2 separate regions of the Homo sapiens genome follow, and region 2 is linked to region 1. Evidence: promoter capture Hi-C in 16 types of primary human blood cells and fetal thymus (Javierre and others, 2016). All regions are on one chromosome and are shown on one strand. Each heading gives the region's core, a stretch centred on a gene start or on the middle of the fragment in contact. The rest is flanking DNA. Distances are from core to core; before and after follow the strand shown. Region 1 holds the start of ATP8A1 (ATPase phospholipid transporting 8A1). Region 2 overlaps GUF1 (GTP binding elongation factor GUF1).

Region 1 (2,750 bases), core at 67-2,566:
TGAAATCCAATTCTCCTAACTTATATATTTTTCTAAAACCACTTCACCACCTGTCTCACATTAAAAGATGGAGGTGGGGAGGAAGAGTGGGAATCAGCGATGATGGCAAGATAGATTTCTGAAAAACATGTTATTCCACCCTCTGCAGGATTCAAGTACAGGTTTATGGGAGAGGACAAACAAACCTTGGGATATTTACAGTCTTGGCTTTGACGCGAGCAAAATCAAATAATATTTACAGAGTGCCTGCCACATGGCAGGCAGGATGTTGAGGGCTCCTCGGAGACGATGAAGAGTCTGGGCCCTCGGAAAGCTTACTTGCTTCTACCCCGGAGCATCTGTTGCTCAGTGTTGACAACCATGGCCATTCAAGAGCTGGCCCCAGGTGGAGCAAAGAAAACAGCTTCCACCTGGCTGAAAAGTCAGCTCAGCTGGCCGAAGTGAGGGTTTCGGGCAAAAGGGAAACACAAAAACGAAACCTCAGACGCGAGCCGGTGGGACTCCGCTGCAGGAGGCAGAATTGCAGAAGCTGTAATGCAGGGAACCCACTCGGCACCCGACCCCGATGAAGGCTCCCCGCGCTTCGAGAGCCAAGGGACTACGGATCAAAGGATCCTGCAGCCGGGGAAAAGCAAACTCGCTTCGCTGGGAGCTCAGATAGGGGGTTGCAAAACGGTGGGCGCCGGAGGCAGGGGCGGCGGGCTGGGGATCTGCTGAGTGGAAATCGAACTGGTGGGGAGGGAGGTGGGCAGGGCGAGTGAGCTCAGTGACTGGGACCTAATGGTCACACTGCGGTGCAAAGCACGCCTCGGGGCTCCCGCGGAGAACACCCATTCGAGGGTACTGGAGCCTGGAAAGGGTCTGCGAGTACACTGGGGGCAGCGCGGGGGGAAGGGTCCCCTAGGGGCCGGGCGCGACAGTCGGACTGCCGCCGGGGAAGAGGTAGGATGCGGTCTCTTCCAGGATAAACACACACGCTCACACACACACTCGCTTCCCGACCCCGGGCTAGCCCCGAGCCTCGGCGGCCCCTTACCTTCGGCGCGCGAGCGGATCTCCGACACGGTCCTCCGCATGGTGGGCATCGCGGCGGCGGCTGCAGGTGGGTCCTCAGCCCGGACTCTGCACCTGTCACGGCGTGGTACACGCGGGAGACCCGGCTGCGCCGCGCAGAGCGCTCAGCTGCAGCCTGGGCCGCGCCGCCGCCCACCTAGGGCAGAGCTGCCGCCGGGCGCGGCCCCCGCACGCCGACAGGAGGAGGAGAAAGGCAGCGGTGGCGGCGAAGGTGGCGGCGCCCGCAGAGCTGGGCGAGCTCTTGCTGCAGCCGCGGAGGGGCGGCTCGGCGAGGGGCGGAGCTCGGGCGCCGGCGCCGGGGGAGGGGCCTGCGGGGCTCGCGCTCCCCCTCCCGCGGCCGCTCAGCAAGGAAGGCGGGTGAGGGGCGGGGAGAGCCAGGGGGAGCCTCCTTCGCCCCGCCCCGCCCCGCTTCGGACCGTATCACGACTCAAAGGGGGGATCAACTCTTAGCCTCCTTAGTCCTCCAGCGTTTTCGCTCCGCCCTGTGGAGTTGGTTGACCCGGTTCCTCCTCCAGGCCACTCGGACTCTCTCACATCTTGCTCAGAAAGGAAAGACTGCTCTGGCTGCTGCATTCTCACGAATCCCCTCCCGCTACCCCTGGCTTTTGATCGCAGTGGAGCCGCCCGTCGTCCGGAAAGAGCTGTTGGGTCTGAGCCGGCAGGCGAAGGCGAAAGGGTCTGGGACTACAAGGTTTAGCTCCCAGCCAGAGCAGGAAAGGAACGACTGACTGTTCGCCATCTGGGTGTAATTCTAACCTCTCTGCACGCCCAGCCCGACTCGTGGCCTGAGCCGCACTTGTCCTCCTGCCTCGCCCACTAGCAACAGGCTGCCAGGTCGGGAGGCCCCTGGTGCCCATGGTGCTCTTGTCCATGGGGCTTGGGTGCATCTGGGCCCCGCCTGCAAGTGGGCCCGGTGCATCTCCCTAGTTCAGGCTCTGCAGCCTGACAAGGCACTGAAATAGCAATTAAGCCAACTAAGTATTGGCCCAGGTGGTTCACAAAAGACTTTTTTTTTTTCTTTTAGTTAAATCTGCATAAAGTTGGATGCAGTCGTTTTATCTGCAAAGGGGAGAGGAGTCTTTGTATAAAATCCATAAATATGTTAAATTTTAATTTGCCGATGTCCTTCAGACTATCATAGCCTCATTACCTTTTATTTTGTATACCGAGATCTATGCTAAAAAGTTGTCAAAACAAATACTTCACCTTCAAGTTAAGATGTAAGGTTTTGTGCTGTTTCTGGCGAGCTGCTGAACTGGCAGGAAAGGAATAAACCAGAAACAATAAATCAGAAGCAATTTGCTTCTTCCCTCATTTCATGCTCTTCCTCCAGCAACCAGCGAAAGAGATCCTCACATAGAGGCCTTTTATTTGAGATCTTTTCACATCCTGAAGGGAGAGAGCTGGAGAGGTTTGACCTGAGAGAGAAGTGATTATTTCCAAGCCTCAGGAAAAAATGAAATAAAATCTGCTAATAGCGTCCTATCTCCATTTGTGGTATTTCTTCTGCTTCCTGCAGGTAGCACTTGCTAATCAGAGCCCTGCCCTACATTAATACTCAGGCAGTCAATGCATATTTATGAAGAGCCCACTCTAGTTGGCTCTGATTCAGAGGCTGGAATTAGAACAAAGAAAATGTATTCTCAGTGTTCATGGAACATCTCAGGGTAAAGCAG
Region 2 (2,750 bases), core at 69-2,568, 2.0 Mb after region 1:
TGGTGACTGAGCTTTGATTAGGTTAAAAACTAGATTGTAATCTTGGTCTTAACTTTTAATTTCTCTGGACCTAATTATTTGTAAAACAAGAAATTAGGACTTTTGACTTTATATGTAGTTACATTTGATTTACTGTTAAATGAAATAGTGTTCATTTTAAAAGATAAAATTGTTAGATAAAGATTAAAAGCTTTGGTAGCAAGCCTAATGCAATTGAAATATAAAATGTTTCTCTCTGGATTATAAATACTGCCTATAAGTTTTTACTAGACCTTTAGAGAAATACATCATTCCTCAGTATTTGAGTAGGTTATCATTAAACCCATTTTCTTCCTTCCCTTTTTAGGCTCGAAGAGCAGTTCAGAAGAATATGATATTTATTGATCAAAATAGAGTTATGCTTAAATATCTCTTTCCTTTGAATGAAATTGTGGTAGATTTTTATGACTCTTTGAAATCCCTATCTTCTGGATATGCTAGGTAAAAAAATAATGAGAACCTAAGATGCCTGACCAACTTTTTTGAAATATTGATGAGCAAGGGTATACTAATTCTTCATTTATTTAGTAATTTCAGCTTTCTTGAAGATAGTTGAGAATCATACTCTAAGGTTAGAATGACTTGGAACAACTTTATAGGTGTTACAGACTACTTGTGATTTGCTTATAGGAGAAAAGTTTCCTTTGATTTATTATCTAACTTTTATTTCTCTTTTAACAAAAAAAGTTAGTCCCCTTTTCATGAAGAGCTGTATTCCTTGTCTGTTAAGAATTAGACCTAATTTCAAAAATTTACCATAACCTCAGTGGCACTTTTAAAATGTATATTTATGTTATGCAATCTCAAGAGCATCTATTTACATTTGAAAAATAAAAGTGCATATTCAGTCTGTAAAAAATGTTAGATGTGCCGCTCCATTAGTGAACACTTTAATAACTTAGTCTTTTGAGGAACAGGTTGTCCTCATCACGAAAACCTTTGTGTATCTCATAGGAGTACATGGAGAAAAGCCAGATAAAAGTGAAAGGAGAGTTACTATTAAATAACAAATAAGAAACTCAGGGCATAGCATTCTGAGAGGCTGTTTTTTGTTGTTGTTGTTGTTGTTGGGGCATATAACTCTAGATACCCTCACTATGCCCTAAAATCTTATGTTACGGGATAGTATATATAGAAAACAGATGTGAAACATGGGGAAGCAGGAGGGGAAAAATGAACATTGACATCTATAAAACTCCCACACAGTGCATGAATGTTAATGTTAACATGCAGAGACAAATTCCAGTGTTTAACAAACATGCTACAGTGACTTGGAAGTTTAACTTTATTTAATCATCTTGTCAGTGAAGAGAGTTAGCATATATAATTCTTCTTACCAAGGAATCTTCATGTTCCTTTGTATTGAGAATTTTCTTCTACTTTGTCACCCAGTTTTTTCTTCTTCTATGTCTTCTTTCAGACAAGACCTTGAGCAAGTAAGTGGCAATGGAATTTAAAGTAAAATGAATTGAGGGGCATATTAAAATTACTAGAGTTGAAAGGAAGATTAGTAGGTTTAATGTTTATAAATATTTTTAACAGAAGTCTGTCAATTTTAGTTTGCATTTGGGTACTACTTTCTGAATTATAAGTGGTCTTAAAAAGCCTTGTCGTTTGGAAACTTAAATACATTTTGAATTTAATGAGAGAACATGATTTATTTTTGAACTACATAAAAATAAAATATTCCAGCTTCCAGCATTAAGGTAATTATGTTCAAGATGGATGTTTTACATAGGCAGTCAATTCCACACTTAACAGAAAGTCATCATAGACTATGAATTAAGATCAGGAAAAAACTTATTTCATACCAGGAGGCAAGAATCAACAGCAACTAGTAGCTTTTTGGAATTACAAATGTGTTTCCTGCATTCTAAGGAAACACTAGAATACCTATGTTTTCAATAGAGGTTAGGTATCAATTGGACTGCTTGGAAACAAAAACACAATTTTTATAATGATTTCTTTTGAAAAAATGAGTTAAGAAATTTTTAAGATTTTTAATATTTTGGACCACAACATAGCTGGAGCTGTAACAACTTCAAAGTTAAGGACCATGTCTGTTTTATTCTCTATTTGCTTTGTATTCTGTATGATACTTAACATGGTATCTTTCATACAGTAAATGTATAAGTGATGCTTCCTGAAGAAAGAAAGGATTTTAACAGTACTTCTGAAAATAATCTGTTAATAGAGTGTATTATTGTCACTTTATGACCTTCCTGCTGAAAATCTTTAGAAACCAAATATAATTTTGCAAGTCCAGGCACCAATTGTTTTAAAATTAAGACAATAGGAGTATACATATTCTTGTCTGTGATTGGGACAACTTGTAAGCCTAATTGAAATTTTCTTTAGACTTCAGTTTTATAAGTGAAACATTTAAATGTCTGTTTTGACTAACATTACAAGCTTTGACCACATTGTTAAAAGTAATAGCTGAAACTAAGTGCTTGTGTGTGCTAAGCTAGGCTCTGTTTAAACACTTATTATGTACTAGGCATTGCTCTAATTGGTTTACATGTATTAACTCATTTAATCCTCACAAAAGCCCTGTGAAGGGAGATGCAAGCTGAAGAGCCAAATAGGAAATCCAAAGGTCTCATTTATTAATGGCATTTTATGAGTGTCATAGCATTTATTTAAACATAGAGTTGTCATTGGTAATAGAAAGTTAAACAGAAACCCAACTCATGAATCTGAAAATGATC

What was found. The method cuts DNA at HindIII sites, captures the fragments that hold promoters and counts their contacts. A CHiCAGO score of 5 or more calls a contact.
Region 2: a contact is called between a fragment that was not itself captured here and the fragment with the promoter of ATP8A1 in region 1, in 1 of 17 cell types (naive CD4 T cells). The highest score is 5.2, in naive CD4 T cells.

The regions. Positions count from the first base shown.
Region 1 is chr4:42,655,789-42,658,538 of GRCh38, forward strand. ATP8A1 (ATPase phospholipid transporting 8A1) reads right to left here and starts at 1,317. Exons shown (of 37, transcript NM_006095.2): 1 at 1,037-1,317. The coding sequence starts at 1,085. ATP8A1-DT (ATP8A1 divergent transcript) reads left to right here and starts at 1,735. Exons shown (of 1, transcript NR_186688.1): 1 at 1,735-2,559. RefSeq lists enhancers at 504-553, 1,544-1,753 and a silencer at 1,044-1,513. The HindIII fragment of the contact is 6,451 bases long and covers 312-2,750 here.
Region 2 is chr4:44,691,320-44,694,069 of GRCh38, forward strand. It overlaps GUF1 (GTP binding elongation factor GUF1), which reads left to right. Exons shown (of 17, transcript NM_021927.3): 13 at 347-480. Among named protein-coding and RNA genes, the nearest start is that of GUF1, 14 kb to the left of the region's middle. The HindIII fragment of the contact is 2,261 bases long and covers 189-2,449 here.